7 separate regions of the Homo sapiens genome follow, and regions 1, 2, 4, 5, 6 and 7 are each linked to region 3. The links are contacts of gene promoters, found by promoter capture Hi-C in blood cells and fetal thymus (Javierre and others, 2016). All regions are on one chromosome and are shown on one strand. The core of a region is centred on a gene start or on the middle of the fragment in contact, and the rest is flanking DNA. Distances in the headings are between cores, read along the strand shown. Region 1 overlaps IL20RB (interleukin 20 receptor subunit beta). Region 2 overlaps NCK1 (NCK adaptor protein 1). Region 3 holds the start of PCCB (propionyl-CoA carboxylase subunit beta). Region 4 overlaps IL20RB (interleukin 20 receptor subunit beta). Region 5 overlaps NCK1 (NCK adaptor protein 1). Region 6 overlaps NCK1 (NCK adaptor protein 1). Region 7 has its middle 38 kb from the start of IL20RB-AS1.

Evidence for each region. Contacts are between HindIII fragments. The CHiCAGO score rates a contact against its expected background, and 5 or more counts as called.
Region 1: a contact is called between a fragment that was not itself captured here and the fragment with the promoter of PCCB in region 3, in 6 of 17 cell types (fetal thymus, neutrophils, total CD8 T cells and 3 more). The highest score is 10.7, in fetal thymus.
Region 2: a fragment that was not itself captured here is called in contact with the fragment with the promoter of PCCB in region 3 in 10 of 17 cell types (total CD4 T cells, non-activated CD4 T cells, naive CD8 T cells and 7 more); the score reaches 11.1 in total CD4 T cells.
Region 4: a contact is called between a fragment that was not itself captured here and the fragment with the promoter of PCCB in region 3, in 2 of 17 cell types (neutrophils and naive CD8 T cells). The highest score is 6.6, in neutrophils.
Region 5: a fragment that was not itself captured here is called in contact with the fragment with the promoter of PCCB in region 3 in 11 of 17 cell types (non-activated CD4 T cells, neutrophils, naive CD8 T cells and 8 more); the score reaches 13.5 in non-activated CD4 T cells.
Region 6: a contact is called between a fragment that was not itself captured here and the fragment with the promoter of PCCB in region 3, in 4 of 17 cell types (total CD8 T cells, naive CD8 T cells, total B cells and 1 more). The highest score is 7.7, in total CD8 T cells.
Region 7: a fragment that was not itself captured here is called in contact with the fragment with the promoter of PCCB in region 3 in 17 of 17 cell types (non-activated CD4 T cells, fetal thymus, total CD4 T cells and 14 more); the score reaches 18.1 in non-activated CD4 T cells.

What each region holds. Positions count from the first base shown.
Region 1 is chr3:136,959,868-136,963,859 of GRCh38, forward strand. The region is part of intron 1 of IL20RB (interleukin 20 receptor subunit beta); the gene reads left to right. All of the region lies in intron 2 of IL20RB-AS1 (IL20RB antisense RNA 1), which reads right to left. Among named protein-coding and RNA genes, the nearest start is that of IL20RB, 3.9 kb to the left of the region's middle. The HindIII fragment of the contact is 1,768 bases long and covers 1,291-3,058 here.
Region 2 is chr3:136,921,657-136,925,339 of GRCh38, forward strand. All of the region lies in intron 1 of NCK1 (NCK adaptor protein 1), which reads left to right. Among named protein-coding and RNA genes, the nearest start is that of IL20RB, 34 kb to the right of the region's middle. The HindIII fragment of the contact is 2,419 bases long and covers 721-3,139 here.
Region 3 is chr3:136,247,891-136,251,614 of GRCh38, forward strand. It overlaps PCCB (propionyl-CoA carboxylase subunit beta), which reads left to right and starts at 2,450. Exons shown (of 15, transcript NM_000532.5): 1 at 2,450-2,668. The coding sequence starts at 2,486. RefSeq lists enhancers at 2,089-2,955, 2,185-2,244, 2,875-2,924. The HindIII fragment of the contact is 10,493 bases long and covers 1-2,933 here.
Region 4 is chr3:136,997,958-137,001,803 of GRCh38, forward strand. The region is part of intron 6 of IL20RB (interleukin 20 receptor subunit beta); the gene reads left to right. Among named protein-coding and RNA genes, the nearest start is that of IL20RB-AS1, 18 kb to the left of the region's middle. The HindIII fragment of the contact is 6,892 bases long and covers 1-3,846 here.
Region 5 is chr3:136,885,149-136,889,094 of GRCh38, forward strand. The region is part of intron 1 of NCK1 (NCK adaptor protein 1); the gene reads left to right. Among named protein-coding and RNA genes, the nearest start is that of NCK1, 25 kb to the left of the region's middle. The HindIII fragment of the contact is 2,649 bases long and covers 750-3,398 here.
Region 6 is chr3:136,939,270-136,942,869 of GRCh38, forward strand. The region is part of intron 2 of NCK1 (NCK adaptor protein 1); the gene reads left to right. Among named protein-coding and RNA genes, the nearest start is that of IL20RB, 17 kb to the right of the region's middle. The HindIII fragment of the contact is 3,059 bases long and covers 307-3,365 here.
Region 7 is chr3:137,018,681-137,022,485 of GRCh38, forward strand. No RefSeq gene overlaps it. Among named protein-coding and RNA genes, the nearest start is that of IL20RB-AS1, 38 kb to the left of the region's middle. The HindIII fragment of the contact is 967 bases long and covers 1,542-2,508 here.

The sequences.
Region 1 (3,992 bases), core at 925-3,424, 710 kb after region 3:
AGCCACTTTGAGGTTATGAGGGGTTAAATAAGATGACACAAACAAAAGCGCTTTGAAGACTTCAACATTTCCCCACCCTCAAATGTTAGTTATTATTATCTGTTGGTTATACAGATGGTGGTATCAGTAGATAATTGCTTTAGCTGAGGTTGTCTTTATGCAGTTTTGACCATTTCCTCTGGATTGTGTAGGTGCCTGTGATGAATTCTGCAAATTCTAAATGAACTTCTATTAGTTACTAGATCACTGGGCAGATGGGTAGAGTTGTGGCTTTTTTTTTTTTTTTTTTTTTTTTTTTTTTGACCGAGTCTCGTTCTGTCGCCAGGCTGGAGTGCAGTGGCGCAATCTTGGCTCACTGCAATCTCCACCACCCAGGTTCAAGCGATTCTCCTGCCTCAGCCTCCTGAGTAGCTGGGACTACAGGCACACGCCACCACGCCCAGCTAATTTTTGTATTTTTAGTAAAGATGAGGTTTCACCATGTTGCCCAGGATGGTCTCGATCTCTTGACCTTGTGATTTGCCCGCCTCGGCCTCCCAAAGTGCTGGGATTACAGGCATGAGCCACCACATCCGGCCATGGCTGTCTTTCATAGAAATCATTTGCCTTGTCCTGTCCCTCCCAAATAATAGTGTGTGATTCAGAAAGCTGATTATGCTACCAATAGTAATAATCACAATGACAATCACAACTGCTATTTCTGAGTACACATTGTGCCTTCAGTTAGCAAAAATGTTATCTTGACTTCTCACATGAATCCTGCAAGTTAGGTGTTATCCCCATTCCACACATTAGGGATAGAGACTAGGAGAGGTTCAGTTATTTGTCCAAGTACCTATATCTAGTAAGTGCAGGAATTGGGATTTGATGATGGTTTGGTCTGCTCCAGAGCCTGTGCCCTTTATATATCTCTGCAGAAAAAGCTGAGACATTAAAACAAGGTAGAAGAAGGGAGGAGGGACAAAGGAAAGGAAATAAAGAAGATGGTGCTACCTTTTCTAATGCATTAGCCTTAAAGGCTGATAGAGGTAAAGGTGGCAGAAGAGGATCCAAATAAAGGGAGTGGACATCAGGCCCACTGAGCGTCCTTCAGAGAAGAGATGCAAAGATTTTTGCCTGGAAAGGTTGCCCCAGGGCTTTTTGGTGGGTAGCCTTCATGCTACTTCCCTTGGACTGACTCACTCAAGGTTTTACGAAATAGGTGTTCAGCAGCAGAAAGGGTCTAATTTAAAGACGAATGAGGGATTAAGAAAAGAGTTAGACCTAGGCTAATTTCCCCAAGGAAGCCAAAGCTTAATTTACTTGTTTAACTTTCATTCTTTTAACACCATTTATGTACCAGGTTCTGGGATGTGTGCTAGTTAGAGAGATTTTAAAAACTTGTCTTCAGGGAGCCTAAGAGCCTGCTGGGAAGTACACTAAAGTCTTTGGCATGTGGGAATTTAACAAAATTTTAACTATTCTTTAGCCACCAGAAGTAAAGTCTAGATTTGTGGTTCCCAACCTCAAATGCACATTGGAATCACCTGGGGAACTTTTTAAAAGCTAAATTCCGTGACTTCACAGCTAGAGATTCTGAGTTAATCTAGGGTGCTGTCTGGATGTTGGGACTTTTTCAAAACAATGTGGGTGGGGCTCCTTAGAGAAGTGATTGATTCCAGGGCTGGGCAGGGAAAAAACAAGATGAGACAAGAGCATTTTGTGGTAAGTAATGAAGTGATTAAAAAAGGATGAGGGCCTAAGTTAACAATTAACATAGTATCCTGGATTGGAGCCTGGGATGGAAGAAAGAACTGAGTGGAAAAACTAGTGAAATTCAAATAAAGTCTGGAGTTTAGTTAATGATAATGTGCCAGTACTGGCTTTTTAGTTTTGACAAATGTATTATGGTTACATAAGATGTTAGCATTCAGGGAAGTTGGGTGAAGGATGTATAGGAATGCTGTGTACTATCTCTGCAATTATTCTGTAAATCTAAAATTATTCCAAAAATTTAAAAATCTATTAATAAAAATAACATGAGTAAAACGGGTGGGAACAAGTTAAAAGGGCACAGGCAGCTTGAAAGTGTTCCCATTGGCCAAAAGCTAGAACAATTTGAATAATAAAATAACAATAGTGTTGGACTTTACAGAATAAATTAAAATATCCATGAGTCCATACCACTAAAAATAAATAATTGAATAAATAAATGGTGGAGAAGGAACAGCTCTTCCTAACAAAAGAATACAATTAAATAAAATATCACTACTAGAACATCACAGCAATAATTATTACAAGAAATATCCATCAGTAGATGTTAAAATTAATAGGTGAAAGTTTGAGGAGGAATGGAATATTTGCACAGTCTCAAAGTATCTCCCCCAAGGTATTTATTAACTACACAGGGGAAAATGGTAGCTTTACAGTAGAGACACTTTCTTAACCAAGTGATCAGGGTGGTTAACATCACCAGTAATAAGACGTATTGATATCATGTACTCCCTGTGAGTGTCTGGAAAAAATGTGTAACCTCAATCAAATCACGTGAAAATATCAGACAAAACCAAACTGAGATACGTTCTACAAAACAACTGGCCAGTACTTCTAAAAAATGTCAAGGTCGGCCAGGCGTGGTGGCTCATGCCTGTAATCCCAGCACTTTGGGAGGCCAGGGCAGGTGGATCACGAGGTCAGGAGATCGAGACCATCCTGGCCAACATGGTGAAACCCCGTCTTTACTAAAAATACAAAAATTAGCCAAGTATGGTGGTGGGCGCCTGTAGTCCCAGCTACTTGGGAGGCTGAGGCAGGAGAATCGCTTGAACCTGGGAGGCAGAGGTTGCAGCGAGCCGAGATTGCACCACTGCACTCCAGTCTGGCAACAGAGCAAGACTCCATCTCAAAAAAAAAACAAAAAACTCAAGGTCATTAAAAAAGACAAAGACAGACTGAAAACAGTTTGGAGGAGACTAACTAGACATGACAGCTAAATGAAAATCCTGAATTGGATTTTGGCCAAAAAAAAAAAAAAAAAAAGCATTAGGGGAAAAACTGATGAAATCTGATTAAATACTGAAGCTTAGTTAATAATATTGCATTAATATTAATATCTTAATTTTTTATAATTGTGCTATGGTTATGTACATATGGAGGGCTGAGTGAAGAGTATATGAGAGCTCTCTGTATTATTTTGCAACTCTTCTGAAAGTCTGAAATTATTTCAAAATACAGTTAATCTGTTCATCATATCACTGGGCTAACATCAAGGTATGGGCAGGACTACATTCCTTCTGGAGGTTTTAGAGAATCTGTTTCCCCCTTCCATGGTATGAATGTACTACAGTTTATCTAACCATTCACCTGTTGAAGGACATCTGGGCCGATTCCAGCTTGACTGTGAATATTTGTGTGCAGGTCTTATGTGATGTAAAGTTTTCATTTCTCTGAGATAAATGCTGAAGAGTGTAATTGCTAGATCATATAGTAACTACATGTTTAGTTTTACAAGAAACTGCCAAACTATTTTGAAAAAGAGTATCATTTTACATTCCTACCAACAATGTATAAGTGATCCACTTGTTCTGTATCCTTGCCAGCATTTAGTTTTGTAACTTTGAAAACTTTTAGCCATTCTGATAACTGTGTAATGCTATCTCATTGTGATTTTAATTTGGATTTCCCTAATAGCTAATAGTGTGCTTATTTGCCATCTATATATCCTCTTTGGTGAAATGTCTATTCATGTCCTTTGCCTATTTTTAGATTGGATTGTTTGATTTTTCTACTGCTGAGTTTTGAGAGTTTTTTATGTGTTCTAGATACTAGTTCTTTTTTTTTTTTTTTATTTTTTTTTTTTATTATACTCTAAGTTTTAGGGTACATGTGCACATTGTGCAGGTTAGTTACATATGTATACATGTGCCATGCTGGTGCGCTGCACCCACTAACGTGTCATCTAGCATTAGGTATATCTCCTAATGCTATCCCTCCCCCCTCCCCCGACCCCACCA
Region 2 (3,683 bases), core at 680-3,179, 670 kb after region 3:
GTAACTATTGCAGTAGGGAAGAGTGTCCAGTGTGAACTCAACTCACTTTTGCCAAAACAAAAGGGGAAGAGACTTTTTTAAAGGTTGAGTATGCTAAGGGAAAGACACTGCTAAGGGAAAGAAAGATGGTTTTTTTGTTTTGTTTTGAGACGGAGTCTGTCTCTGTCACCAGGCTGGAGTGCAGTGGCGTGATCTCAGCTCACTGCAGTCTCCGCCTCCCAGACTCAAGCAATTCCCCTGCCTCAGTCTCCTGAGTAGCTGGGACTACAGGCACGCACCACCACGCCCAGCTAATTTTATTGTATTTTAGTAGAGACGGGGTTTCACCATGTTGGCCAGGATGGTCTTAGTTTCCTGACCTCGTGATCTGCCTGCCTCGGCCTCCCAAAGTGCTGGGATTACAGGCGTGAGCCACCGCGCCCGGCCACTGAGTGGTTTTTAAGGGCAATAGGTGGTCCATGTGAGTAGGCCATCTGGGTTTGTTATTGGCATTTATCTGGAAGAGAAACAAACTTATTATTTATGACAGGAGGTGGTGGTACAAATTAGGCCCACCAATGTTTGGCCCTTACCCTCTCGCCAGGGACTGGGAACAAAAGTGAAAGTTATCTTTTTGATTGTTTGCATTCCAAAGAGGTAGTTCTCAGGTCCTTGGGAAGATAGTTCTTGATGGTAGAAGATTTAAGTCACAAAGGGACAGAGAAAGGATTTATAATTTCAAGCTTTCTAAGGTAACTGCTCTAAATGGGGGTTCAGGTGACCATCTGCCTATCACCAGGTTTTGGCTGGAACAAACGGTAAATTCTGGCCATGTGGAGCCTTTTCAGGTAAGGAACTTGATGGAGTTGGAGTCATTATTCTAGGATATGGGGAAAAGATATGAACAAGCACTTTACACAGAAAAACAAATGTAAATGTCCCTTAAATATGGGAAAAGAAATCACTGTAATAAGAGAAATACAAATTACAACTCTGAAATACTATTTCTCCCCTATTAGATTGGCAAAAATCCAAAAGATTGACAACATAGTTTGTTGGCAAGGCTGTGGGGAAATAATCACTGATATATTGTTAGGAGTTTTTAAAAATAGTTTATGAATACAGAATTTAGCAGTATCTCACAAAATTATACAAACTTTAGCTGTAACTCAGCATTCTTCTATGATTCTAACCCAAAGGTACACTAACAGAAAATCAAAATGACACATGTATGAGGCTGTTCATTGCAGCACTATTTAATCCCAGAAAATTACAAACAACCCATTGACCATCAGTAAGGTCTAGTTGAAGAAAGTGCTACTTACATAATGATGACGCACTCTGCAATTGTTAGAAGTAGTAGATGTATTAGTAAAGGAAGTCTCATGTGCTGCTGTGGAATGATCTTAAGGATAGATTGTTAAACTGAAAATGAAAAGATTCAGGCAATATAGTCTATGCCTATGTGTATGTGTGTGTGTGTGTGCGCGCCTGTGTGCATGTGTGTGTGTATGTTTTGTTGTGGGGGTAGATAAAAATTAGAATTTTCAATTTTCTTATATATTTTTCTTGAATACTTTCCTTAAATTATTTAAAAAAAAATAGAAACATAAACCAAAACAAATAAATAGCTGTCCAGGCCGGGCGCGGTGGCTCACGCCTGTAATCCCAGCACTTTGGGAGGCCGAGGCAGGCGGATCACGAGGTCAGGAGATCGAAACCATCCTGGCTAACACAGTGAAACCCCGTCTCCACTAAAAATACAAAAAAATTAGCCGGGCATGGTGGCGGGCACCTGTAGTCCCGGCTACTCGGAGGCTGAGGCAGGAGAATGCCATGAACCTGGGAGGCGGAGGTTGCAGTGAGCCAGGGTCGCTCCACTGCACTCCAGCCTGGGTGACAGTGCAGTGCGAGACTCCGTCTCAAATAAATAAATAAATAAATAAATAAATAAATAAATGGCTGTCCAGTGGGGTGGATGGGAGAGGGGAGAGAAAAGAGAAGGTATGGAAGAAGACCTCTCTAAATGTTTTAAATATGTTTGATATTTAAGCATATTTAATGTTTAAACATTCATATAAACAATATTAAACATAATGTTCAAACATGTTTGATATTTAAACATCTACCTTGCTTGATAGTTTAGCTTTTAGAACCATCCAAATGTTTTACATAATTATGAAACAATTACATTTTAAAAAGGGAAAATAAAGTGATCTTCAAAAAATGAAAACAAGTGAGCCTAACTCTACGTCCAGTTGGTGTCATAACCACACAGAAGTATATATTCTACCTTTTCTGTAAGGTTTTATGTTTTAGGGTAATAGAACAATAAGCAAAATTTTCCTTTGAGAATAATCACAGTTTCTGAAAGCAGGTAGAGCTAGCACATCATCATTATTGAAATAGTTGATCTAGGCAGTGATCATCAGTGGCAGGTAAAACCATTGGGTAGAGGTTTGATGGGGGAACTTTATAATAATGGATAAATCAGTTCAGTGCTACAAATCTACCATTCAGTCTTAACATCACAGAAAATGGTTCAGGCAGACATAATGTGCCTCCTAATAAATGGCAATAACAAGTACACAAGAATACTTAACGAATTATTCTTGCAACAATGACAAAACAACCTAGAAAAAGTAAAGCCTCTAGAAATAATTACCAGTTTATAGGAGATAGGGGGGATAGAGGAACACCATGAAAATATACACTAGCCAAATTCACGATGTGGGAAATGCTACAGGACAAGTGAAGCCAGCTTCTTAAATAAATGACATAGAGTGGGGAAAGAGAACAGTGTCAGAGACTTAAAACATGTTAGCTTAAGTGCAATATATCGACTTAGTTTGGATCCCAGTTCACACCAACTGTAAGAATGTTTAAAAAAATACACTTAGCAAAAATTGAATATTAGCATTAGATGAAATAAGTGTTGCAGGAGTTCTTAATAAAGGAACACCTTTTCAAAATGAGCTTTTGAAAATATACTGATAATTTAATTTTAGTATAATTGACTTGTTTGCAATCTTATATATTTTTATGCATCAGAAACATTGTGAGTAGAGGTTCTATGTTTCACCACACTGCCATTAGGCAGGAGGAGGGGAGGTCCATGGCTTAACCCATTTGTGCCTAGTGTTCCATTATTGGAACGCTAAGCTTGTGAGAGTTATTTATATCATGCTCAAGGTCGTCACCAAGGTCTGATTTTTCACACAAGAAATTGCAACCTCCGGCATATATGGGTTAAAAAAGGGAAAAGGTCAGGAGCCCTTGATTTGTTCATTTTTGAGGGGTATGGGTTTTTAATCTGTTAGTGCTTAATGAAATCATGGGATTCCAGTTCCCCCACCAAAAATTAGGGGGATAGCTGAACCACAAGGCATAATATTGATAAAATTGGGTGATAGGTATAGGATTCATTATACTATTCTCTTCTGTAAATGTTGAAAAGTGCCATAATTATAAAACTTAAAAGCATTATATAAATTTTTAGTTATTATACCAGTAATGTAGTAGAATGCTATTTTTGTACATTCTGGGGAGGACTAGATAATATTGGTAATACTTTTGTCACCCTGATAGGTAAAGTGTGGTATTTCAGTTTAGTTTTCATTTCTTTAATTATAAAGATATTCAGGATCTTTTGAATACTTTTTGACTATTTGTGTTTTCTCTTTCAGTTTTTATTTTAATTAAAC
Region 3 (3,724 bases), core at 1,200-3,699:
GCATGGAGGAGATGATACCTGAGCAGGTTTCAGAGCCTGAAAAGACATAGAGGAGGGGGCGAAAACCTCTGGACTCACATGCAATTGCCTATTTGCTAGCTCGATTCAATTTCACAAATACATTCTAAAGGCCTTCTCTGCGTTGGGCCTTGTTCCAGGTGCTGGGACCACAGTGGTGAGCAAATCAGCTGCAGTCCCTGACCTTTGGCTGGAGAGTCTGTCTAGGAAGACAGCTAAACAATCTTAACACAGTGTGAGATGTGCTTTATGTAAGGAACCTACAAGGCACTGTGGGACAAGGGAGTCCAACTGCCCCCAGGCCAAAAGCAAGTCCCAATTTCTGAACATGAAAAAACTCTTCACAATCTAATGCCATTCTCACTTTCCAGTCTCATTTACCACCATTTCCCCAAAAGCTGGGAACACAACAAAGTATGTGTGTGTGTCTGTGTATGTGAATCTGAACATGCCAGGCCTTTGCTCACACTGCTTCTGTTCCCTGGCATATGGATGCTTTCTTGGAGAAACTCTCCTCAACACACTCAGCCTTACTCAAATTCTCTCTTGTGCTCCCAAGGCAATCTGCCTCTCTAGGTTGTCCATCTGCCTCTCTAGGTTGGTAAAGTCTTTAAAGCAAGGACCCAAATGCAAGGTCAAGAGTACCCATTACGGAGTTATACAGATACAGGTGGGCTTTGCCTAGCCAAGAGGCTTTGGCCTCTAAGCTGCCCTCTCTATCTAGATGAACTGTTACTACTCCAGGAAATGCAATCAGTACTGATGTTTAGTTCTTGGCACATGGTAGGTGCTCAAAAATGTTTTCTGAGTTGAATTGCATTAACATTAAGGTCATAGGTCAGAATTTGTACTTTATGAAGGCCCTGGCTATGAGCTGGATCTGGGAAGGGCTCATGATCAACTTTAGCAGTTTTCTGTGGCTAAAAATGAGAAATATAAACCATGTTCTTTGTCTTGAAGACCTGCCTGTTAGTGGGAGAAACAGATGGTCAAGCTCTCAACAGTACAATTCCAAATTCCTAGAGCAGTGGTTCTTAAACTTTAGCAAGCAGATCAGAATCACCTAAAGGTCATCTGCTAAAACAGATGGCTGGCCCCAGCCCCAGAGTTTCTGATTTAAAGGTCTGGAGTAAGTTCTGAGAATTCGAGCTTGCATTTCCAACTCACTCCCAGGTGATACTGAAGTTGCTGGATTGACAAGATTCCCTCCTTGATCAAACATTGGTCAGGCTCTTCTGAGCTCTCTCTTTGACTAGGCCTGAGTGTGGGCTCCCATGTCATTCCTTGTGGAATTCCATTTTAGCAAGAAACTTGCCAAGTCAGTTTAGCCAGAATCCTCCATTCTTGATATCTGATTACTCTCCATATCTGGTTTTGACCCATACCGCCACCATCCCCCAGGTGATGTTCAGTTACCCTGACCTGCCTTGGGCAGGAATCCTGTTAGGTCAATTTAGCCAGATTCCCCGCCAATGTTTCCTCTTAGTAATTTTCCATCCACTGACTTCCACACACTGCCCCTTAGCTATAAATTACCACTTTGCTATATTCAGCCCAATCGCTCTGACTTATGGCAAAACTCTATCCCTACCTCTGTCAGATTGGGCCTGAATAAAGTTTGCCTTACCATTCTTAAACATGAATAATTAAGTGTCATGAATAGTTTTTTCTTTAATGGGATCCATACTTTGAGAACTACTGATTAGAGGTTAAGGGTCCTGTGCTCATTATCTGGCACATATTAATGATAGGTCTCTGAGTTTGAATCCTGGCCAACCACATTGTCAGTCTTGGCTTTTTTTTTTTTTTTTTTTTGAGACAGGGTTTTGCCCAGGCTGGAGTGCAGTGATGCAATCACGGCTCACTGCAGCCTCGACTTCCTGGGCCAAGCCATCCTGCCGCCTTAGCCTCCCGAGTAGCTGGGGTCACAGGTGCAAGCCGCCATGCCCAGCTAATTTTTAATTTTTTTGTAGAGGTGGGGTCTTACTATATTGCTCAGGCTGGTCTTGGGCTCCTGGGCTCACCTACCTCGGCCTCAGTCTTGCCTCTTGATCAAATCACTCATCTCTCTGTGCTTGATTTACCTCATCTGTGAAATCCAGATAGTAAGCTAGTGCATGGTAAGTGCAAAAAGCAACACCTGGCACAATGCTTAATAAATGTTGGTTAAATCTTATAATCATTTTCTGTAGGAAGTGGGACGACAAAGTTAAGGGTCTAGGTGGTCAGAGAAGAGCAAGGACTATGTCCCTTTTTTGTGCAGCCAGGCAGGCCCTGTACTTTTTCTCTGCGCGACCCTCCTCGGGCAGCACCGGGTCTCGAACTCTCACGCCTTACTCCCAAGCAGGTTCTGTAGTCCAGCCCCCGCGGCTCCCTACAGCCAGCCGATGCTGCGCAAGCGCCGTACCCACGCTTTAGCACATGCGTACTCAGGTGCGCCGGTAGGGGACGCGCCGGCACAGCAAAAATGGCGGCGGCATTACGGGTGGCGGCGGTCGGGGCAAGGCTCAGCGTTCTGGCGAGCGGTCTCCGCGCCGCGGTCCGCAGCCTTTGCAGCCAGGCCACCTCTGTTAACGAACGCATCGAAAACAAGCGCCGGACCGCGCTGCTGGGAGGGGGCCAACGCCGTATTGACGCGCAGCACAAGCGAGTGAGTCCTGAGGGGCCTAAGTGAGTCCCGCCCCTGGCGTCCGCGACCTATCACTGCGTGCCCGGCTTGCGGCGTCCGAGGCCTCCCTGCCAATCCGCACGGTGCCTGGAGGGGCCGGAGCAAGGGTGTTCACCTTGAAAACCTGTAGCGTTTCTCGTGGAGGCGGGTATAACCAGCAGAAGCACCTGTGTGCTTTTTCATACTGTTTAACCCTTGGGATTTAGACGGATCTGGCTCGTCTCTAGCCAGCTCAACACTTAACATAAGCTTTTGGGCAACTTATTAAATCTCTGTGGGTCATTTTAATAATAATTCTTCCTTCACAAGTGTATCGTTAGACCATAGATAGCAAAATGATAGGCGCTCAGTAAAAACCATGTGCTTATTCTCGTGCCCCATGAAAGAGTGATGGTAGGTTCTTTCTCCTTTGTGGAAGCAGGAAAACTGAACTTGGGCATACTCCACTAACATGAAATGGGGGATGTGCGCGTGCAGGAACTTGTGGAACTTCTGCCCGCAGAATGCCTGGTCGAGCTCTTTAGGGCCTTAGCATGCCTCGCCTTGATGGGTAGCAAAGGCACGTGTCGGAAGCAGGTGGCCTTTCTGGGAGTGCGCAGGCTACTCTCGATGTTTGGCTGGACTGAGCAGTTGAAACACTGCCACCCACCGCCTGGGTTTTGAGGCGAGAATCCAGCTGGCCTTCAGAGATAAGCTGGGCGGCCCATTTTGGAGAGGTGATCCCTGACTTGAAACCAGGCTTGCCCAGTGTGTCCGTGACTGGTGGGTGAGTCTGGACCGTTGTGCTGAACGAATTAACCAACGGGAAGGTGCAGAAGTGAAACTCTTACAGATGAAGAGTATTCAGGCACAACTCACAACCATGAGGGAGGCACTGGGGGAGGGATGGGGTCTTAAAGTGAGGAGATTTGAACAGCTCTATATTTGTCTAATATTGATTCAGATGTCATAAATTCGCATTTGACAAGGGTCCAAAGGTAACAGTTCCTTTTGACACTTGAGAGTGAAATGTAAATTTAGTGATGGTTTGTGGTGCTA
Region 4 (3,846 bases), core at 995-3,494, 750 kb after region 3:
CAGGGTTTCACCATATTGATCAGGCTGGTCTTGAATTCCTGACCTCAGGTGATCCACCCGCCTTGGCCTCCCAAAGTGCTGGGATAACAGGTGTGAGCCACTGTGCCTGGCCTCCATTAACATTTAATATAATGATTGATATGGTTGAATTTAGGTCCATGATTTTCTTTTCTTTTTTTTTTTTTTTTTTCCCCTCTGTTCTTTTTCTGCCTCTTTTTGGGTTAATTAAAAATTTTTTTTGAATTTCACTTTAGTGACTTTTTAGTTATTCTTCTTCACATTACTTTTTCATGGTTGTCCTAAGAGTTACAATATACATATTCTTAACTTTTCACAGTCTACTTAGAGTTAATATTATATCATTTCACATGAAATGTAAGAATTTTGGAATAATTTTTGCTTTATATAGTCATATATATTTTTAAGGTATTTAAAATAATCTTTTATATTTACCCACATATTTACCATTTCTGGAACTCTTTCTTCTTTTCTGAGATCTTTATTTCCATCTGGTGTGGGCTTCCTGTCATTTTATAAAACTTCTTGACTTTTTTTAATTATAGGTTTAGTAATGTAGATCTGCTAGTGACAAATTCTCTTTGATTTTTTTTATCTGAAAATGTCTTTATTTTGCTTTCATTCTTGAAGGATATTTTTGCTGGATTCTTGGTTGGCAATTTTTTCTTACTATATTTTCATTTTAAATATTAATTATAATATTTCAAAAATAATAACATTTTATTTTAATAAAGATGGCATCTTGCTATGTTGCCCAGGCTAGTCTGGAACTCCTGGGCTTAAACAATCCTCTTTCTTGGCCTCCCAAAGTGCTGGGATGACATGTGCGAGAGCCACTGCACCCAGCTCTTACTACTTTAAAAGTATTGTTTAATTGTCTTCTAGCTTACATTGTTTTTGATAAGAAAACATCCATGATTTTTTTAACATCATTCCCCTATGTGAAATGTGTTCTTTTTCTCTTGCTGGTTTTAAATTACCATTGGCTTTCACCAGTTAAATTATAACATGCCTAGATGGGGTTTGCATTATATTTATCTTGCTTATAGTATACTGAGCTTCTTGAATCTGTACATGTATATATTTTTAAGCTACAATTTGGAAAATTTTCAGCCTTTTTTTTTCTTTTTATTTTTTTAGAGACAGGGTCTCACTCTGCCACTCAGGCTGGAGTGCAGTGGCATGATTATGGCTCACTGCAGCCTCGACCTTCTGGGTTCAAGTGATCCTCCCACTTCAGCCTCTTGAGTAGTTGGGACTACAAGCATGTGACAGAGCAACCAGCTAATTTTTAAATTTTATGTAGAGACAGGGTCTTGCTATGTTGTCCAGGTTGGTCTTGAACTCCTGGCTCAAGCAATCCTCCTGCTTTGGACTCCCAAAGTGCTGGGATTATAGGCATGAGCCACTGCACCTGGCCACAGCTAATTATTTTATTTTTTTGTAGTGATGGGGTTCTCCCTATGTTTCCCAGGCTGGTCTGGAACTCCTGGGCTCAAGTGATATCCTTCCGCCTTGGCCTCCCAAAGTGTTGGGCTTAACAGATATGAGCCACTGCTCCCAGCCCATATTTCTTCAGGTATTTTTTTTTTTTTTGTCTCATTCTCTTCTCTCCTTCTGTGAGTCCAATCTTATTTATATTAGACCTTCAGATATTGTCTCCATAGATACCTGAGACTCCATTCATTTTTATAAAAAACTTCTTTTCCTCTTCTTTATTCTTCAGATTGAATAATTTTATTAACCTATCTTCTTGTTCACTGACTCTTCTGTTATCACCAGTCTGATTTTAGGCACGTCTAGTGAATTTTGTATTTAAATTTCAGATATTGTGTTTTTAAATTCTAGAATTTCCATTTGTTTCTTTTTTATAGTAAATATTCTCTGCTGAGATTTTCTATTTGGTCATTTATTATGAGAATATTTTCTTCTGTCTTTGAGCATCATTATAAATACCTTTGTCTGCTTTACTTTAAAATCTTTGCTAATTTCACCAGGTGGGTCATGTCAAGGTTGGCCTCTATTGATCGTTTTTTATTTGGTGTAGGTCACATTTTCCTATATTTTGTATGTCTAGTGATTTTGGATTACAGTCTGGATATTGCCAACAATATGTTATAGAGATTTTGGATTCAGTTATGTTCCTCTGAAAACTATTGATTTTTTTTGTTTGTTTATTTGCTTTAGTAAGCAGTTAGTTTAGAAGAAAGACTCAACTTTGGTCTCCTATGCAGTAGGCAGTTGATATCTATTAGACTGTTTAGCCTTAGACAGACTGGTAGGAGCTTTCCCCACACCTGTACCTCACACAGTTCAAAGGTCAATCAGATATTTGGGCAGAATTTATGTACAGAATTGCAGCTCCCCTTTTCTGGCTCTCTCCTTTTTGGGATTTTTCCTCTTACTTTCTAACTTCTGTGTTTGCACCAGTCTCTGTTTTTTGGCTTTTCAAAAACAGTAAGACTATGGCACCAAGTGGGACCTGCCTTTAGGCAAGGAGCTGTGAAAAATGGGAAACTCACCCAGTGACATTCCCTTCTTCCAAGCATGAACTTTTAGTTGCTCTACCATGATTTAAGGAATCTGTTTTTAATATTTGGGTCAGTTTTAAAAGTTGTAATCTGAGGAGTGTTGGTCTGATTGGTGCTCTCCTGACATAAGTGGAAGTAGAAACCTGCAATAAAAGAGGAATCCCTTGACCTAATCCAAAGCGATGGTAATGGTAGGGAGCATTTCTGGCTGAGGCATATCAATAGCTCTTCTTTCTCATACGTGGTGAAAAGCTCAGCCTTCCTCAGCTGGGCTCCATCAGATGGTCTTCTGTTGTGATTTCTCTCTGAACTCTGCTGCCCATGCTTACTCTTACAGGCAACTACACTCTTAACACTCTCTCTTATGTTTTCTTTACTAGTTCTATCAGGGGGCCAGAAGAGTTTTTCTCTCTACCTCAAGATCAGGGGAATGAAGATCTTCCCAAGACCCAGTGCCTTGTTAGTGAGGAACAGGGTAAAGAGACAGGGAAAGAACCATGTAAAGGGTTAATAACTTACAGGATTTCAGGTACACAAGAAGAGTCCTCAACAGCTAAGATCTCCTAGGAATCCTGATGTATCATGAGCCACACCCTAAAATCAGCTTTTGGAGAAAACGAAATAGCTTAGATGAGACCAGAGACTGGAAGACTCTGTGACAGTATGACCAATTTCATCCATGGCAGATAGACGTCACTACCCTTGACTACCTTTTGCTTCCCTGTTCTCTGTTACCATTCTTCCTACATCATTCTGATGTCTGTTCCTACGTGCATTCCCTTCCGTAAGGCTTTTAACTTTTATCCTTACTTCACGCTAAGATTTTTAAAGTGGACAAATTCTCTGAGTCTATGCATTTCCCCACAGTGCTGTGTGAGAAGCAGATCACTAGCGTCCATTGAATCCCGCACAAATTCTTGAGCTGTGAATCAATACTGCCACCTCCCCTCTCTCCGCTATGACTTTAGCATAGCCTAGCTGCATTTCTACATGTGTGTTACTTACAGATACTACCCCAAACTATTAAAAAGTGATTTCTAGCCATCCTTGCAAAGTCAACTCATCTTTCCAACTAAACCATGGAAAATTACCAATCAGAAATCCTTGACAATTCTTCAAAAGGGTCTACTGAGTTTGTGTTTAATTTATCTGTATGGACGAAACATTTCATGTCTACGTCTAAAATTTTATAGTAGGTGATGGTTGCACTCTGAAATATGACATTAAGAATTTTTTCCATTAAAGTTTATATCACCAAGTAATAATCTTTTATTATTATTATTATTATACTTTAAGT
Region 5 (3,946 bases), core at 824-3,323, 640 kb after region 3:
GCTTCAAAATACTTAAGCAAGGAAACAGGAATGGGTGAGAATATGGATATTGTGGCCGTGGACAAGTGGCCATGAGTTGATGATTTTAGCTACATGATGGGTTTAAGGGGTTTGTTCTCTTCTTTAATGTATGTTTGAAATTTTACATAATAGAAATTATAAAAGGAGGGAATTGTCTTTTCCAGCTGTAATCTAGGGCACATTACTTAACTTTTTTGAGACAGGGTCTTGCTCTGTCACCTAGGCTGGAGTACAGTGGCCTGATAACTCTTCAGCTCCTTACGTAGCTGGAACTATAGGTGCATGCCACCATGGCTGGTTAATTTTTGAATTTTTTGTAGAGACAGGATTTTGCCATGTTGCCCAGGCTGGCCTCCAACTCCTGGGCTCAAGTGATTCGTCTACCTTGGCCTCTGAAAGTGCTGCAATTACAGGTGTGAGCCACAGCACCCAGCGTACTTAAACCTTTGAAGCCTTAGTTTCTTCAGTTAAAAATGGTGATATTAATACTGATTGTATCAGTTTGCTGTGGTGATTAATGACAGTGTATTAAAACTACTTAGCATACTTACTCTGTGCACTCATTGTCCAGTAAATATTTCTGAAGTGAAATACAGTGAGATAATACAGTTAGGCATCAAGGTTAAGGGGTTTGTAGAGGGAGAAAAGGTTCTGGGCTCTTTATAGCAACCTTTCATAAGAGATATGTTCTTTTTAGAATGTTATAAAGTTGGAATGGCTAACTTAAAAGCTTCCATAGACATAATATTTATTTATTTTGGCATGTTTTTAATAGGAGTTTTCTGATCTGAACGTGTACAAAAGCAGCAGTACAGTGGTATTTCATCTGTTCTAAACCACATCCTTTTACTGAATGTTATTCCGGAAGCATTTATAAGGCAGGTGCCCCTTTGAAAGACATTGTCCTTTAAAGTAGTTTGAAACTAAATTTTCATTTAACATTAAAGTCAAATGAGGGAATACTTAAGATGGAAGCATGGGTTAATAAAATTGTATTAACACTAATTTCTTAGAGCACCTGACTTAAAGTATATATTTTTTGGTAGTAACTTGGCTATAGGTAGTATATAGTTATCCTTTTTTTTTTCTTTTGCAGTAAAACTTGGTTATGGATAGTATATACTTGTCCTTTGGTATCCATGAGGTGTTGGTTCCAAGACTCCTTGCAGATACCAAAATTTGAGGATGCTTGAGTCTCTTGTGTAAAATGGGGTACTATTTACATATAACCTATGCACATTCTCCTGTATACTCGAACTCATCTCTAGATTACCTAATACATTGTAAATGGTATTTAGGTAGTTAATGCTATATTGTTTAGGGAATAATGACAAGGAAAAAACGTCTGTATATGTTTAGTACAGGTGCTTTTTTTTTTCCTGAATGTTTTAAATCCACGGCTGGTTGAATTCATAGATGCGGAACCCATAGATACAGAGGGCCAACTGTACTAAGAAATTGCTGTCACAGTCTGTAGATGTCATACAGTTTTGTCTCCAGATAAATGAGAGACCTGTGAACACAAAGGAAACTTTCTTGTATGCCTTTTCATTCTCATGTTTTTAAAGTTCGTTCATTTTTTGTTTAGGGAACTTTAATGAGTTACTTAGGCAGAGTTTGGAACTGTCCTGTAGTTACATGATCAGTCTTTTTTTTTTTTTTTTTTCCTATCTTTCTTTTTCTTTTTTTCTGAGACGGAGTTTTGCTCTTATTGCCCAGGCTGGAATGCAATGGCACAATCTCATCTCACTGCAACCTCCGCCTCCCAGGTTCAAGCGATTCTTATGCCTCAGCCTCCCAAGTAGCTGGGACTACAGGCAGGTGCCACCATGCCCGGCTAATTTTTGTGTTATTAGTAGAGACGGGGTTTCATTATGTTGGCCAGGCTGGTCTCGAACTCCTGACCTCAGGTGATCCACCTGCTTTGGCCTCCCAAAGTGCTGGGATTACAGGTGTGAGCCACTGCACCCAGCCCCTATCTTTTATATTGTGTTTTATTTCTTTAGAAATGAGGTTTCACTGTGTTTTCCAGACTGGAGTACAGTGGCTGTTCACAGGCACCATCATAATGCTGTGTGGCCTCCAACTCTTGGCCTCAAACGATCTTCCCACCTTATCCTCTTGAGTAGCGGGGACTACAGGAGTGCACCGCCATGCTCAGCATTTTTTTTCTATCTTAACATAAAATGGAAAAGTTACTGTTGCCTTTTCTCCTGATAAATAGCAGCCTAAGTAAGACTGGTAGTTTGGAATAAAGGATAAGTTAAAAGGGCAGGAAGGTGAGGAAAGAAGTGTTTAAAAATGAAGGCGAGAAGGAGAAAAAGAAGTTGAGAGATAAAGTTTATATTTTCCTGTGCCTTAGTATCGACTTGCAGTGAATTAGTTGAAAGTTGCCTTGCCAGTTACATATAATTGGTGACTTTTAAGTTATTTGTCACCTGGAACAGACATAACTTCTTTAGCATACAATTCAGATACAACTGTCATTGAATTTATGTTTCCATAAAATTGGTGGTAGAATTTTTAGCATTAGGTAGGAGAAGAGGACAGGGAAAGACAGCTGTGTCTCAGGCACTGTACTGTTTTACCTATTTTGTTAAATCCTCACAGCAACCCTGTAGGTAGGTGTTAACTGAAGCAGAGAGGTTAGATAACTTGCTCAGTGTTACACACTGATGATAAATGACAGAGCAAGAATTCAAACTGTAATGTTTCGGTTCTTGTTATCTTTTATTCATCGCCTTTATTGTTTCTTTTCTTTCTTTCTTTCTTTCTTTTTTTTTTTTTCTTTTGAGATGGAGTCTTGCTCTTGTCGCCCAGGCTGGAGTGCAATGGCATGATCTCTGCTCACTGTAACCTCCGACTCCTAGGTTCAAGCTATTCTCCTGCCTCAGCCTCCCAAGTTGCTGGGATTACAGGCGTCTGCCAGCACGCCTGGCTAATTTTTGTATTTTTAGTAGAGACAGGGTTTCGCCATGTTGGCCAGGCTGGTCTCAAACTCCTGACCTCGTGATCTGCCTGCCTCGGCCTCCCAAAGTGCTGAGATTACAGGTGTGAGCCACCGTGCCTGGCCCTCCTTGCTTTATTTTATGATTCCATTCAGTCATTAGTCTTGTCGGTTTTTAAAAAAAGGTTTTATTGAGATATGATTCACATACTATACAGTTCACTCATTAAAAGTATACAATTCAGCTTTTAGTATATTCAGAGTTGTGCAACCATCACCACAATATCAGAATTTTTTTTTTTTTTGAGACGGAGTCTCGCTGTGTCACCAGGGTGGAGTGCAGTGGCAAAATCTTGGCTGACTGCAACCTCTGCCTCCCAGGTTTAAGTGATTCTCCTGCCTCAGCCTCCGCAGTAGCTGGGACTACAGAAGCTTGCCACCATGCCCGGCTAATTTTTTGTATTTTTAGTAGAGACGGGGTTTCACCATGTTGGCCAGGATGGTCTTGATCTCTTGACCTCGCGAGCCACCGCACCCAGCCATATTGGAACACTTTAATCACCTCCCAAAGCAATGCCATACTCATTAGTTGTCACCCCTAACCTCCCCTCTCCGTGTCCTAGGAAACCATTAATCTGCCTTCTGTCTCTATACATTTGCTCATTCTGAACCTTTCATATACATGGAATCATATAGTATGTGGTCCTTTGTAACCGCTTTCTTTCACTTAGTTCAATGTTTTTTTTGTTGTTTGTTTTGTTTTTTTCTTTTTTGAGGCAAGGTTTGCTCTGTTGCTTGGACTGTAGTGCAGTGCTTGATCACAGCTCACTGCAACCTCTGCCATCCAGGCACAAGTGATCCTCCTGCCTCAGTCTCCTGAGTAGCTGGGACTGCAGGCATGTGCCACCATGCCAGGCTAATTTTTTGATTTTTTTTTTTTTTTTTTTTTTTTTTTTTTGTAGAGACAGTCTCACTGTG
Region 6 (3,600 bases), core at 586-3,085, 690 kb after region 3:
TTCATAGTATTTGTTTATAATCCTTTTTAAAATATCTGTAAGGTCTGTAGAAATGTTATTTCTGATTTTATTTATTTGAGTGTCTCTCTTGTTGGTCTAGCTAAAGAGTTTTCAATTTTACTGATATTTTCAAATAACCACATTTTGGTTTTGTTGATTTCCTCTGTTTTTCTGTTCTCTTTTGTGTATATCTCTGCTCTGATTTTTATTATTTCCTTCTTTTTGCTTTGAGTTTAGTTTTTCTTTTCCAGTTCCTTAAGATTAAATTTAAGTTGGTAATTCGAGATCTTTCTTCTTTTTTATGCAAGCTTTTAGGGCTATAAATTTCCCTCTGAGCATTGCCTTTGCTGCCTCCCATAGGTTTTTGTATGTTGTGTTTTCATTTTCATTTGTCTCACAGTAGTGTCTAATCTTGTGAAATTTCTTGGTGACCTATTGGTTTAAGAGAGTGTTAGTTGCCACACACTTGTTAATTTTCCAGTTTTCCTTTCTGTTATTGATTTCTAGGTTCATTCCATTGTGGTCAGAAAAGATACTTTGTATGACTTCAATCTCAAATTTATTGAGGCCTTTTTTTTTTTTTTTTTTTTTTTAAAATAGAGACAGGGTCTCTCTTTGTTACCTAGGCTGGAGTGCAGTAGCATGATCATGGCTCACTGTAGCCTTTGAACTCCTGGGTTCAAGCAATCCTCCCAACTCAGCCTCCTGAGTAGCTGGAACTACAGGAATGCACCACCACACCTGGCTAATTATTTTATTTTACTTTTTATTTTTGTAGAGACAAGGTCTCACCATCTTGCCCAGGCTGCCGTCAGACTCCTGGGCTCAAGTGATCCCCCGACCTTGGACTCCCAAAGTGTTGGAATTACAGGCTTGAGCCACTGTGCCTGGCCTATTGAGCCTTGTTTTGTGTCCTAATATATGGTCTATCTTGCAGAATATTCCATGTATACTTGAGAAAAATGTGTGATATATTCTGCTTTTGTTTGATGGGATATTCTCTATATGTCTATTAGGTCTAGTTGGTTTATAGTACTGCTCAAGGCCTCTATTTCCTTAATGATTTTTCATTTAGTTCTGTCCCTTACAGAAAGTGGGGTATTGATGTCTCCAAGTATATTGAACTATTTTTCTCCCTCAATTCTGTCATTTTTTGCTTTATATGCCTTGAGGCTCTCTTGTTAGGTATGCATATATTTGTAACTGTTACACTTCTTGATGGACTGATTCTTTTATCAATATATGCTGTCCTTTGTCTTTAAGTCTGTGTTGTGTGATATATATTTATTTATTTTTAGACAGTCTCGCTCTGTTGCCCAGGCTGGAGTGCAGTGGCGTGACCTCGGCTCACTGCAACCTCCGCCTCCCAGGTTCAAGCGATTCTTCTGTCTCAGCCTCCTGAGTAGCTGGGATTACAGGCACCTGACATCATGCCTAACTAATTTTTGTATTTTTGGTAGAGACGGAGTTTCACCATGTTGGCCAGGCTAGTCTTGAACTCCTGAGCTCAAGTGATCCACCCGCCTCGGCTTCCTAAAGTGCAGGGATTACAGGCATGAGACACCGCGCCGGGCCTATGCTGTGTGATATTTATATAGCCACCCCACTCTCTCAGTTATCCTTTACATGGGATATCTTCTTCCATCCTTTCATTTTCAAACCTATTTGCATCTTTGTTTGGATCTAAAGTGAGTGTCTTGCAGATAACAGTTGCATCATGTTATTTTTAATCTATTTACATTTAAAGTTATATCTGATAAGGAAGGATTTCTGCTATTTTGCTGTTTTCATTTACTTTTTTTTCTTTCAATTCTTCTATTACTGTCTTCTTTTGTGATTTCTTTTTCTTTTTTTTTTTTTTTTTTGGAGGGTGGGGGTCAGGGTCTCACTCTGTCACCCAGGCTGGAGTGCAGTGGTGGAATCTCTGCTCACTGCAACCTCTGCCTCCCAGGTTCAAGCGACACTTATATGTCAGCCTCTCGAGTAGCTGGGACTACAGGTGCATGCCACGATGCCTGGCTAATTTTTTGGTATTTTTTTGGTAGAGACGAGGTCTCAGCATGTTGGCCAGGCTGATCTTGAACTTCTGACCTCAAGTGATCCGCCCACCTTGGCCTCCCAAAGTGCTGGGATTACAGGTGTGAGCCTCTGTGACTGGACTATTTTCTCTAATATATTGTTTTATTACCCTTCTTGTTTCTCTTTCTGTATTTTTGTTTTTCCTTAGTGGTTACCCTGGGGATTAACATCTTAGGTTTTTAACAATCATGTTTGAATTAATACCAACTTAGTTTCAGTACTATGCATAACTCTGCTCCTTTGCAGCTCCATCTTTGTATATTACATCTTTACACATTAAAATATATGCCCATTAACCTAGAATTGAAATTTTTGTTTTATGCATTTGTATTTTAAATTGTGTAGGAAAGAAAAGGAGAATTTACAAAAAAAAACTGCAATACTACTGACTTTTATATTTACTTATGTAGCTACCTTTACCATTGTTCTTTATTTCTTCATATGACTTCAAATTACTGTCCAGTGTTTTTTCATTTTAGCCTGGAGGATTCTCTTTAGCACTTCTTTTTTGAGACAGTCTTGCTCTGTCTCCCAGGCTGGAGTACAGTGGTGCGGTCTTGGCTCACTACAACCTCCACCTCCCGGGTTCAAGCAATTCTCCTGCCTCAGCTTCCCGAGTAGCTGGGACTACAAGCGTGTGCCACCACGCCCGGCTAATTTTTTGTATTTTTAGTAGAGACGGGGTTTCACCATGTTGGCCAGGCTGGTTTCGATCTCCTGACCTCGTGATCCACCCACCGCTGTCTCCCAAAGTGCTGGGATTACAGGTGTGAGCCCCTGTGCCCAGCCTCTCTTTAGCATTTCTTAGCACAGGTCTGGTAGTGATGAATTCCTTTAGTTTTTGTTTATCTGGGAATGTCTTATGTTCTCCTTCATTTTTGAAGGACAGTTTTGCTAAATATAGAATTCTTTGTTGGCTCTTTTGCTTTCAGCATCAGATCAGATTCTATCCCCTCCCCAGGGCTTATTACTGCTGCTTATTGTGAGTGGTTGTTGTTTGCTTGTTTAGTGACTTTACTAAACTACTTTTATAAGCTCTATATTCCTGGTCATGTGGGGCCGCTGAAGTCTATTCCATTTGCTTAGTAATCAGCTAGGGTTTTAACAGAGTTTCGTTAAACACCTGGAGCCAAAAGAAAAAACAAACAAACAAAAGAAAACCTCTCCCCATCTTTACAGATGGCTTTATGTTGGGGCAGTTTTTGACCACTTAGTGATGCCATTTATAATTCTGCCTTAGCCTTTGCTTACTGTTTGCTCAAAGCCTGAAGATCAGCCAGGGTGAAAGCTTAGGGTCTTCTTGGGCCTTTCCTGAATGTGCATCCAGCCCTGGCCATGTGCACGTCCTTCTTGATTGGTATACACACCCCTTATTACCCCATGTATATTCTTTCCCATCCCCTTTCTGTCCAGGCTTTTCCATCTGTCTGTTCCTTGTCCCAGTTGTTGTCCCTTGCCCCAGGCTGCTGCATCCATTAAATGATTTTTGCAAAAACCACCCAGGAAGACTCCCTATGCCTG
Region 7 (3,805 bases), core at 775-3,274, 770 kb after region 3:
TTTGATTCCATATGAACTTTAAAGTAGTTTTTTCCAGTTCTGTGAAGAAAGTCGTTGGTAGCTTGATGGGGGTGGCATTGAATCTATAAATTACCTTGGGTAGTATGGCCATTTTCATGATATTGATTCTTCCTATCCATGAGCATGGAATGTTCTTCCATTTGTTTGTATCCTCTTTTATTTCATTGAGCAGTGGTTTGTAGTTCTCCTTGAAGAGGTCCTTCACATCCCTTGTAAGTTGGATTCCTAGGTATTTTATTCTCTTTGAAGCAATTGTGAATGGGAGTTCACTCATGATTTGGCTCCCTGTTTGTCTGTTATTGGTGTATAAGAATGACTGTGATTTTTGCACATTGATTTTGTATCCTGAGACTTTGCTGAAGTTGCTTATCAGCTTAAGGAGATTTTGGGCTGAGACAATGGGGTTTTCTAGATATACAATCATGTCATCTGCAAACAGGGACAATTTGACTTCCTCTTTTCCTAATTGAATACCCTTTATTTCTTTCTCCTGCCTGATTGCCCTGGCCAGAACTTTCAACACTATGTTGAATAGGAGTGGTGAGAGAGGGCATCCCTGTCTTGTGCCAGTTTTCAGAGGGAATGCTTCCAGTTTTTGCCCATTCAGTATGATATTGGGTGTGGGTTTGTCATAAATAGCTCTTATTATTTTGAGATACATCCCATCAATACCTAATTTATTGAGAATTTTTAGCATGAAGGATTGTTGAATTTTGTCAAAGGCCTTTTCTGCATGTATTGAGATAATCATGTGGTTTTTGTCTTTCGTTCTGTTTATATGCTGGATTACGTTTATTGATTTGCGTATGTTGAACCAGCCTTGCATCCCAGGGATGAAGCTGAGTTGATCGTGGTGGATAAGCTTTTTGATGTGCTGCTGGATTCGGTTTGCCAGTATTTTATTGAGGATTTTTGCACTGATGTTCATCAGGGGTATTGGTCTAAAATTCTCTCTTTTCTTTTTATTGTGTCTCTGCCAGGCTTTGGTATCAGGATGATGCTGGCCTCATAAAATGAGTTAGGGATGCTTATGTATTTTTAATTTAAACTTTATTGAAGTATATCTGGTTGTATTGTTATGGCATTTTCATTTCACCTTGGGAAGTTTGAATTTTCTATAGAGTTAAGGTAGTTGGTAATTGTGTTTTCCAAAGACTTCTGAGAATTTGGAAATCTACACTCTATTGGTCTGTAATTAAAATAAGGATGACAGCAATATATATGAAGCAAAGTCTACATTTTTATTCATAAGTCAAAAGAGAGTTTGGGCCAAAATCTTAAGATACTGCATTTATAGCTACTATTCTTGGCTAATCATAAAGAATCTGATCCTCCTGTGAGAAAATAAAAAACTTTGGTTCTGGGTCAAGAAACTACTGATTGGGAGAACCATTTTGATTTTTCACTGAAAATCTTGATGTAATAACACATACCTGATATATTAGGTTGGTAAGGGGGTGTAGAATATTATAAAAGGAGGGAGAGCCTATAGCTCATAAAAAGGAGCAAGATAAATTAAAAGCTTGGAAGATAAGAACAGAATTAAAAAGAAAAAGAAAAAAACAAACAAACTCCTAAACCTGTGAAAGTAACATGGGTTTGATAGATAAAATGTCAGGGGCAAAACTGGCTAATTCAGCCAGAAATCATGTGTGCCAATCTGGATTATACCCATGTATTAAACCATTGTAGATGGAGAAACACAACCGTCATGCAGAATATTGGCCACTGCGCTGCTGGAGGCTCCTCTATCACCTCACGGTAGGGAGGATCCCCTGTTTCCTGGTGGCTGCCAGTCACCCCCCTCTAGAGCTTTGGTCTGTCAGCTGTTCTGATGCCAGGGCTCTCAAACTGCAAACAAACGAGAACAGATGAGCCAAAGCTCTATACAGAGCCAAAGAGTCAGAGGTTATGAATGAGTTTAGAGCAAAGAGATTTTTAGCAAATCCTTAGTGGAATGCCGTCTAAAAATAAACAAAAAAGAACTATTAGAAAAGTTGAGCTGTATTTGATAATTGGAAAATTTGCATTAATGTTGTAATATTATTTTAGAACTAATTTTTCCAGACAAATAAGTGATCATTTATTTTGTTAGAAATCTAGACTTCTTAGCATAGGAGAAGAGGAACTACAATTGCAGAATCAAGAATTTGAGTAGGTGATGAATATTTCAATTACACTGATTTAATCTTTACCAGTGAGGTGAACGTATTAAATTATCACATGTACCCTGAAAATATGTACATCTATGACTTATCAATAAAAAATTAAAAAAAAATAAAACCAGAATGGCACTGATGTTTCAAACCAAGCAAAAAATACCTTAATGGAATTCATAAAACTAAAATTTCTAAAGAAAAACACTCTATCCCATAAATATGTACAATTATTATGTGTCAGCTAAAAATAAAAGAAAAAAGTAAAAAAATAATTTGATGAGGAACACTTTATTGTTAGAACTGGACTGAAAAAATCAAGATAAATTCAAGCTTTTAAAAGAACAAAAATAGTAAATTAAAAATACGTATCCTTTGTCTCTCTGTCTATTGAAATGCCCAGGAGCCATGTCACCTCACAATGCACTTTGGCACCCACATTCTGGTCTCTAATGCTCTTCTTACCAAAAGCGTCTTGGGAGGAATGGCATATTCCATACTTTGAGCTGGAAATTCAAGGAAATCCTAAACACTGAACAACAAGGCCAGAAATCAAGAAAGTTTGAATAAATTAGTAGAGTCAAAAGGACAGAGGAGCCATCTAAAAGGGGTTCTGCTGGCCAAAGTTGAGGCAACTTGAATGTCAAAAGGAGAGTATCGGCTGAAGCCAATGGGCATATGGTGGATTGGAGAAGCCATGAGTCCAAGATGATACATAAAAGGAGCAAAAGACTACGAGTAGTAAGAGAAAATGGAGAAAAAAACAGAGGATTTGTCAGCCAGGCGCGGTGGCTCACACCTGTAATCCCAGCACTTTGGGAGGCCGATGAGGGCAGATCACGACGTCAGGAGATCGAGACCATCTTGGTTAACACGGTGAAACCCCGTCTCTACTAAAAATACAAAAAATTAGCCGGGCGTGGTGGTGGGCTACCCGGGAGGCTGAGGCAGGAGAAAGGCGTGAACCTGGGAGGCAGAGCTTGTAGTGAGCCAAGATCACGCCACTGCACTCCAGCCTGGGCGACAGAGTGAGACTCTGTCTCAAAAAAAAAAAAAAAGAGGATCTGCCAAGTCATTTACATGTTGGCATGTTGGTATTATGTTGGTGTTAGTGATTCGTCTGTTGTGTAGATGAAGAAAACAAAAACTAGGAAACACAAATACATCAGTCAGAAGAAGTTGTATAGCTCAAGGGGAGTATGAGTGGAATGACCCTGTAAGTTGCGACTTTGAGTCACACAATGCCACATAAAATATCACAATTAAATTGGGAAACTGATTATACTCTTGCACTAGAAGGACCCATAACACTGATGCTTAGGAATTGAAGTTTGATGGATTCCGGCTGCTGGCTGGTGGTCAGTCCCCCTCATTTCTTAGTGCATGGGGATCGTTAAGTTAATAGTAAAAGTCCTGCTGAAAAAAAATTTTTCCACAACATTGATCAAAAAGAAAATTCTCTTTCAAGAAATAAATTAACTCAAACTTCATAATAAGCCTGTACAAAGCTGACAAACTGGGCAATAAGTGTCATTAATTCCAAGAGTATTTAAGTATTTAACTTCAGTCAGAGCACGAACACACTCACACACATACATACACACATACGTATACACACATACACACAT